2 separate regions of the Homo sapiens genome follow, and region 1 is linked to region 2. Evidence: promoter capture Hi-C in 16 types of primary human blood cells and fetal thymus (Javierre and others, 2016). All regions are on one chromosome and are shown on one strand. The core of a region is centred on a gene start or on the middle of the fragment in contact, and the rest is flanking DNA. Distances in the headings are between cores, read along the strand shown. Region 1 has its middle 28 kb from the start of RAB33A. Region 2 holds the start of OCRL (OCRL inositol polyphosphate-5-phosphatase).

What was found. Contacts are between HindIII fragments. The CHiCAGO score rates a contact against its expected background, and 5 or more counts as called.
Region 1: a contact is called between a fragment that was not itself captured here and the fragment with the promoter of OCRL in region 2, in 6 of 17 cell types (M1 macrophages, M0 macrophages, monocytes and 3 more). The highest score is 6.6, in M1 macrophages.

Annotation. Positions count from the first base shown.
Region 1 is chrX:130,197,377-130,201,802 of GRCh38, forward strand. No RefSeq gene overlaps it. Among named protein-coding and RNA genes, the nearest start is that of RAB33A, 28 kb to the left of the region's middle. The HindIII fragment of the contact is 3,341 bases long and covers 804-4,144 here.
Region 2 is chrX:129,538,408-129,543,276 of GRCh38, forward strand. It overlaps OCRL (OCRL inositol polyphosphate-5-phosphatase), which reads left to right and starts at 1,852. Exons shown (of 24, transcript NM_000276.4): 1 at 1,852-2,071; 2 at 2,337-2,416. The coding sequence starts at 2,033. RefSeq lists an enhancer at 1,685-1,979 and silencers at 1,696-1,755, 1,866-2,065. The HindIII fragment of the contact is 8,325 bases long and covers 1-2,716 here.

The DNA.
Region 1 (4,426 bases), core at 1,224-3,723, 660 kb after region 2:
TTGTATTTTTAGTACAGACGGGATTTCCCCATGTTGGTCAGGCTGGTCTTGAACTCCTGGGCTCAGATGATTTGCCTGCCTCTGCCTCCCAAAGTGCTGGGATTATAGGCATGAGCCACCACGTCCAGCCAACTTATGATTTTTTGACTCTACAATGCTGTGAAAGGGATACACACACCTTCAGTAGAAACTGTACTTCAATTTTTTTTTCTGGGCTAGCAATATGCATTAGGAGATTCTCTCGTGATGCTGGGCAGTGGCAGCGAGCCACAGCTCTCAGGCAGCCATGAGATCACAAGGGGTAAACAACCAAAAACACATTGTACTGTGTTGCCAGTAGAGTTTGCCCAACTGTAGGCTAATGTAAGTGTTCTGAGCACATTCGAGGTAGGCTAGGCTAAGCTACGATGTTAGGTAAGTTAGGTGTGTTAAATGCATTTTCAAGTTATGATATTTTCAATTTAGGATGGGTATGTCATAATGCAACCCCATTGTAAGTTGAGGAGCGTTTGTGTATATATATTCCTTACAACTTTGCAAGAATATCACCATTACATGCCTCTCACTGATGAGGAAGCTGAGACTGAACAAGTTCAGGTAATTTACTCAAGGCTACACAGCTGTTCAGATACAAAACCAGGATTGAAACCTAGGACTGTTATTTCGAGGCTACACTCTCTTCAGCAGCCCCCCCAGCCACCGAATATCACAGTGGTATGGACAAACAGATATTTTTCAGTGTGGAGGATTAGAAACAGTAGAAGTCATGCACAGCAGCCTCTCCAAGTTTGTTGATGATATTAAGCTTTTTCAGGTGGTCAAATACCAAACTGACAAGAATCAAACTGCAGAAGGGTTTCAAAATCAGAGAAGAGAGGTATATGAGTATGAGCATGAGGTGAACTATGGTGTGGCCAAGTATAAGGTAGCATAATATAGGGGAAATATCTTAATACTATTAGATTGGTGCAAAAGTAATTGCGGTTTTTGCCATTGAAAGTAATGGGAAAAACCGTGATTACTTTGGCACTAACCTAATATTTATAAATGACAATTACGACTAAAGTGAACCCAGGAGCATTGATAGACATTCCTTAAAAATATTAGTCTGGTGAGCTTGAGAAACCAAGAAATATAATGGTATGCTTATCTTTAGTACTATGTGCTTCAACAGTGACCCTCAAGAAAGCCACTGGGTTAGGAAAAGAGAGTTAATAGTCATTGATTGTGAAGGTGGTGTGAGGAGGCTGGAATGAAAAACTGGGTGAAGATTCGAACTATTTCTATCTGAATAAAATTAAGACAAATAAAATCAGGAAAGGTAGTCACAATGTAGCAATAATCGTAACAATGTTGGATTGCATTCCTGTGTGCCAATCACTGTTCTAAGTGGGATATACATATACTGTATTAACTCAATTAATTCCCTCAATTCTGAGTAGATGCTGTTACATGCAATTTACAAATAAGGAAAATGAGACACAGAGCCTAAAGTCACACACACAAATCTAATCACTGGTAGGGGAGGAATTCCAACCTAGGCAGTCTGCTGCAGAGCCTGGGCTCTAACCACTCCACTGCACTGCACCTGTAAGGGTGCAGAGAGGGTTTACTGCAGAGTCAGGTATTGAATCTTGGACCTTGTAATCCTAGTATTAAGACACTCTCTTGAAGCTGTTTAAACAGGAAGTAAGACTTTACAGAGTAAGAAACTCGTTAATGGATAATAGGCTGAAAATAGTAATAGTTCCAAGAAAAGTAGGTAGATTAATAAGCCAAGCATGAGTTACAGAGAAGCTAGATACGATTAAGTCTGAAACTTCTCGAGTTTGAAATCATGTAAAGTGACTGTCCGTTATGTATTCCTTAGATTTTATGAACACAATGACCATACTATTTTTCCTGATATAATTTCCAAAAATATGAAAATGATTTTTTGAGAGCCTTGCTCTGCCACCCTTGAGTGCAGTGTGTGGGTTTATTTCTGGACTCTCATTCTATTCCACTTCTCTTTTTCTACCCTGTGGCAGGACCACACTGTTCTGATTACTTTAGCTTTGTGCCAAGTGTTTTTTCTTTTTTTTGATGGAGTCTCACTCTGTCACCCAGGCTGGAGTGCAGTGGTGCGACCTTGGCTCACTGCAACCTCCGCCTCCCGGGTTCAAGTGATTCTCCTGCCTCAGCCTCCCAAGGAGCTGGGATTACAAGCGTGTGCCACCACACCAGGCTAATTTTTGTATTTTTTGGTAGAGACAGGTTTTCGCCATGTTGGCCAGGCTGGTCTCAAACTCCTGGCCTCATGATCCACCCGCCGCGGCCTCCCAAAGTGCTGGAATTACATGCATGAGCTGCCACGCCTGACATGAAAATGATTATTGCTAGCCTCGTTACATGTTCCACCTTACAAGTGGTTCATGAACACCCTCAATAGTGTCTGTTGTTGTTCCCTTGTGTTCATGAGTTCTCATTTTTAGCTCTGAGAACATGTGGTATTTGGTTTTCTGTTCCTGCGTGGATATTTCATATAAACGGAATCACACAACATATGACCTTTTATGACTGTTTTCTTTCACTTAACATAATGTTTAAGAGGTCCATACACACTGTAGCAAGTATCAGCACTTTGTTCTTTTTTGTGGCTGAAAAATATTCCGTTGTATGGACACACCATAACTTTTGAGACAGAGTCTTGCTTTGTCACCCAGGCTGGAGTGCAGTGGTGTGATCTCAGCTCACTGCAACCTCTGCCTCCCAGGTTCAAGTGATTCTTGTGCCTCAGCCTCCCCAGTAGCTGGGACTTCAGGCACCCACCACCACACCCAGCTAATTTTTGTATTTTTAGTAGTGACGGCGTTTTGCCATGTTGCACAGGCTGGTCTCAAACTCCTGATCTCAGGTGATCCACCTGCCTCGGCCTCCCAAAGTGCTGGAATTACAGGGATGAACCACCGCGCCCGGCAACACACCATAATTTATTTATCCCTTTATCTGTGGGTGACATTTAGGCAATTTCTATCTTTTGGCTATTGTGAATAGTGCTGCTATGAACATGCATATACAAGTATCTGAGTCTCTGCTTTGGATTCTTTGGAGTGAAACTGCCGGGTCATATGGTAATTCTACACTTAACCTTTTTGAGGAACTGCCAAACTGTTTTTCATAGTGGCTGGACCATTTTACACTGCCACCAGCAATACATGAGGGTTCCAATTTCTGCCTCAGGGCTTTTGCACTTGTTTCCCCTCTCTAGAAAGCTCCTCTGACAGATACCCAGGTGGCTCACTTCCTCACCTCCTTCAGGTCTTTACTCAAATGCCATCTTCTCAAGGAGGCCCAACTTGACCATCAAATTTAAAACGGCAACCTCTCAACCACCAACCTGTATGTTGCTATCTCCCTTATTTTCCTCCGTAGACTTCATCACCATTAACATACTATACGTTATTTACTTTCTATTGTCTGTCTCCCAACACAGAAATTTAAGTCCCATGAAGGCAGAGATTTCAGTTTGTATTTCCAACAACTACAACAGTGCCAGGCACATAGTAGGTAATATTTACCGAATAAATGAGACTGAGAGGCTGGGCGCAGTGGCTCAAGCCTGTAATCCCAGCACTTTGGGAGACCGACGCGGGCGGATCACAAGGTCAGGAGATCGAGACCATCCTGGTGAAACCCAGTCTCTACTAAAAATACAAAAAATTAGCTGGGCGTGGTGGCAGGCGCCTGTAGTCCCAGCTACTCGGGAGGCTGAGGCAGAATGGTGTGAACCCGGGAGGCAGAGCTTGCAGTGAGCTGAGATCGCCCCATTGCACTCCAGCCTAGGCGACAGAGCGAGACTCCGTCTCAAAAAAAAAAAAAAAAGAAAAAAGACTGAAAGAGGTGTTTTGCCAAAATGTGACACAAAGAAGGGCAAGAATCTAAGTCTTTGTCATTTAGTGTTTTTTTAAAAAATAATAATAGTGATGGACTGAAACTGAGCCAACCATACCTTTTATTCAGTTGAAAACAAAAAAGGACACATGCATGACATGGCTATTTCTGAATCAGGTGAAATAACTAACAGTCTGAAGGTGAAGAGGGATCAGATTGTCAAGCTAAAACTCACTAACACCTATTAAAACTCAACTGCTTATAACAAGTAAGCTTAGTACTGACTGCATAAATAGTTTTATTTAAACAAAGTTTAAAAAAAGTGATGCTATGGGACACATAACTTCCAGAGCATTAAACTTTAAAATAACTTGATACATAGTATAAGAAACAGAATCCTATGGAAGAACACAAAACTGTACCTCTACCTAAAATACTGCTATAGCAAGAATGTGGTTTTCTGTATTTTTGAACTGTGATAGAGACAGAGAAAATATCTGTAAATAAAAAGAAGACCAATGCTAAAAATGCAAATAAGTTGTTATTTCTGGGA
Region 2 (4,869 bases), core at 602-3,101:
TGGTAGATAGTGATACATAAGCAGGGAAGAGGGATAGGGAACATGTATGTGTGGTGATGGAGAAGGGGATTGTTGAATTACAATTTTCAATAAAGTGGTCTAGGAAGGCTTCAGTGAGAAAGTGACATTTGAGCAAAGACCTGAAGGAGGTGAGAGTGCATGCAGAGTGAACAGCAAGTGTAAAGGCCCTGAGGTAAGAGTGTGCCTGGCAAGTCCTAGCAACAACAAGGAGTCAGTGTGACTAAGCAAAGCTAGTTAGGGAGAGTGGTGGGAAATGGTGGGAGATGTCCGAAAGGTGATGACAGCTTGTCTTTTTTTTTTTTTTTTTTTTTTGAGACAAGGTCTTGCTCTGTCACCCAGGCTGGAGTGCAGTGGCGCCATCACAGCTCACTGTAGATGTGACCTCGCTGGCTCAAGGGGATGCTCCCACCTCAGCCTCCTGAGTAGCTGGGACTGCAAGCACTTGCCACCACATCCAGCTAATTTTTATAGTTTTTGTAGAGACAGGGTTTTGCCACGTTTCCCAGGCTGGTCTTGAACTCCTGGGCTCAAGTGATCCTACCACCTCGGCCTCCCAAAGTGCTGGGATTACAGGCATGAGCCACTGTGCAGGCCAGTTTGTCTTTTAACTTGTTTATATTGTCTTAAAGTACATACATTTTGAAATTTCATGTAGCTAAATGTCTTATTCTCATTCCATATTCCAAGCTCATACTCAATTTTTTTTTCTGAAAGTTATAAAGTTTTGCTTTTCACATTTAGATCTTTAATCCACCTGGAACTGATTTTTCTTCCATGGTTTGAGGTAGGGGTCTAATTTTTATAATTTTCCATATGGATAAGCAGTAGTCCTAGTACCACTTAGTGGATAATCCATTCTTTCCCCACTGATTTGAAATGTCCCACACGCTGCATATCAACCTTCCGTATATGTGTGGTCTGTTTGAGGGGTTTATATTGTGTTTCATTGATTGTCTATCTCCACAGCATACTTTTAATTACTACAGATTTACAGTCACTCTTGATATCTAGTGTATTATAGATTCTGGAGCAAATGAATAACACGATCGAAAAATTACTTTGGGAAAAATATTTTTATGGCTGTCAACAGAGTAAACATGTCAAAGGAAAGAGTAAACCCAACAGGATTTATTTAAAGAAAAGTGCAATAACCCAGATAGGCTATCACAAGGGCTTACAATAAAGTTATGGCAGTGTGAATGGAGAGAAAATAAGGAATCTAAAAGTAATTCCACGTAAAATATTAACAGGGTGTGTTGACTGATTGGATATAGAGATGAGGAGGGGGAAGACGATATATGGCTTTCCAGTGAAATGATAATGAGTTAGTTTTGTGACGCAGTGATGTGTTAACAATGGACTCTATTAGGTAAGAGGTCTGGGCCAGGGATATATATTTGGACATTGTCTAGTTAGAGGTGAACTGGAGGGGACGCAGAGGAGGAGCAAAGGTCTGGGCTTTGGGGAATTCTCCGATTTAGGGCGTGGAAGAAAGAAGAGGAAAGGAAATGGTAGGATAACCAACACGGGACATTATAACCTTAAGAAATATATATATATATATATATGTATTTTTTTACTGAATGATGTGGGTCGTATTGACACAACAGGTTTGAGATCTCCCATAGGTATGACTGTGTTTTGTTTCTGTGGCCTTCAAAGTCCTCAGAACAATTTTGATGTCACAGGTGGCATTTAAAACCCATTCCTTGCTGGACCTGGTAGAGACGCCCCCAGTCCGTCAGGTCTCTCGCTGCAGTTCCGCAGTTTGACCGCAGGGGACGGAATCTGCGGCGGCCTGGAAAACTGGCGGGGGCGCGAGGCGCCGCTCTCTCTTGGGTCAGATTCTCAGCTCCCAGCTCCCCGCTCCCGGCTCCCGGCGCCCGGCGCCCGGCGCGGAGCTGTTCCTCAAACGACACGCAGCCGAGGTGGGTGGGTGTGGGGACGCGGGAGCCAGTGTCGTCGGATCGGCCCGCAGTCCGCTGTCCTGCTGAGCCCGGAGGCCGCCTGGATGGAGCCGCCGCTCCCGGTCGGAGCCCAGCCGCTTGCCGTATCCGCCGGAGAGAAGGGAGAGGGGAGGCCGCGCAGGGCCGGGGGTGGGGGTCGGGGGCCCTGCGGAACACGGTGGGGCGGGGCAACCGGGTGGCCCAGAGGCCGAGCAGAGAGGGGGAGGGGGCCGGCGCGGGAGACGAAGCAGGGCGGGGCGGGGCGGGGGAGGGCGGCGGTGGGGGGGGGGTGGAAGACCCCCTTCGCCCCGCAGTGCACCACTCCTCCCCACCGCGCTTCCGAAGGAGACCCTTGACTAGCGCCCGCATACTGTCGAGGGTATGGAGATGAAGGGTCCTCTCCGGGAGCCCTGCGCCCTGACCCTAGCCCAGAGGAACGGGCAATATGAGTAAGTAACCACCTGATTCCCACAGAGGAGGGGAGCCTGCCATTACCTCCCAACCCCAAACCGCGACGGGTCACCCACTGTCCTCCTACTGAAGCCACGCGGGCAACAGGTTCAGGTCCAGGTGTGAAGTGCCAGTGCTCTCTAACCTCGGGGCTTTGTCCCCAACTTCCAAGCCTCTGGATTGTGCTTGGCAGTGTGGCTCAGTGGAAGGACTGAATGGGCGGGGAAGCAGGAAGCCTGGGTTCTTAGTTCCTGCCCCTGCAACTGACATGTGTTGTGTAACGTTGGGCAAGTCAATAAAGCTTTCTGGGCCAAAGTTAACTCTTCAGTTTAATAAAACCATTAACTGCCTTACCTTACAGCCTTTGGAATTATAACTGGGGGAAAAATAAATGCGAGAGTGGCTTCCAAAAAGTAAAAGTGCTATGGAAATGCTTCATTGTTAACGTTACAGACTTGTCTTAACCCTATTCAGCTGGTTTCTCCAGTCTCCCCGTCCCCTTATCCCACTGGGTTGAAGGCATATTCATTAATTCAGTAATGGTTTAGTGTAGGCCAGAAACTGCCTCACTTACTGACTTTACTGTTAGAAAGAAAAGGTAATGAAATGTGTAGAGATAGAAATGACAGTATTTTATCAGTGTGTCACCTTCCTCTCTGCCATAGGAGCTCCGTAAATACTGTTGACTGATTGATCAAAAGATTATTTTGATAAGCTATCACCATAGCTGCTAACCTCACTCTATTGTCACTAATATCTTATCTCAAAAATATCCATGGTGACCATTACGTATCATAGGCCCCTATCCCTGTGTGCCCAAGACACCTCACTTGGATATTCATTGGCTTCTTGACATCATATTCCTTCCCAGTTTAAAAATTGTTCACTTAAATCTTGCCATCTCCCAACATTGGCTTCTGCCTAAAACCAATTTTCTCAGTCCCCACTTTTAGATCCTCTGTATCTATGCTGTCAGATTTACACGGAAGAAATTCCCACTGGCCCAACCTGCTCTTCTCTGAGACTATTGGTGCCACTCTAACTGGATGTCAGCTAATTCTGTGAAGTAGCTCTTTCATAGGTCCTGCTTAGTCAGCTCTACTGGGAAGTTCATCAAACCCGGATTTCATCAAACCCTGGAAGACTAGTTTAATGAAACTAAACTAAATTCAGAATTTAATAAAACAAAATTCAGCAGAAAAGTGGAACACCACTAACATTTCCAAAGGCTAGAGTGGGTTACAGAGAGGTGACCCTTGGGCAAACCAGTAAAACTTGTGTGCCTTGGTTTCCTCTAATGTAAAAACAAAATCATGAAGATTGAATAGAGTAGCTACATTGTTGAGATGACCACAGCCCAGAATCTAGTCCCTCGGATTAGTAGATTTGGAACTCTGTTGAGCTAATAAGGAAGTCGTGTGTTCCAATTCTGTGTAAGTTATGGGGGTATAGTTGGGGGTATATGTGGGGGTATGGGGCTGCTATATAACTAACATTAATATATAGGTAACACTATATAACAACTATATAACTAACAACTAATATAGTTGTTGCTATATTAGCAGTTTATATATAAACTATGTAAATAGTTTTAAATATATATAAACTATAGTTTTAAATACATATAAACTATAGTTTATATATAAACTAACATATAACTAACAACTAATATAGTTGTTGCTATATAACTAACATTCAATGGCTGCTTATGTGCCAGGTACTGTTCTAAGCCCTTTTCATTAGTTAGTTCATTTAATCCACATGTGAGGGTTACTATAAGATAGTAATATCATCATCCCCCTTTTATAGATACAGAAATTGAAGCACAGACAGGTTAAGTCACTTGTTTGCAATTAGGGAGTAGAATACCTGAGATCTGATCCTATGTAACATGTCTCAGAATTACACTGAGAAGTTTCTCTTGAAAGCATTTGCTGGAGACACCTAATACCATAATACCATCTGTAATCCTCATATTCTTGTCTCTCTGGTGTCTTTTCTGACTCGAGTGTCCAGAACTTTTTACTTTTGGCTTTTTTATCCTAGAACTTGAAGCCTGACTTAAATCTTTAGGTCTGTGGTTCCTACTGTCAACCATAGGAAATTTGCTTGACCAAAATTACAATTAAAAATCAGGGTTTTTTTGGAAACAGGGAATCAAACACTTAAGATTCATATTTTTCAAGGATAATAGATTATGACAAAACCTGTTTGACCTTTAACCTTCCTTGAACAAATCAAAGTGTTTCCTAGGGATAAGGCAGAGTTGGCATTCAGGATTTGTCACTCTTTTCTGTTTGACAACTACCAAATTCTGAATTCCATTGTTTTGCTGTATACCAATTATTTCTAATCTTTATATTCTGAAATGAATAATTACACTCAGAATTTTTATGCTTATTCTTAGCCCTACTCTTTTATTGTAATTTAGTGGGTAACACGTAGTAAATAC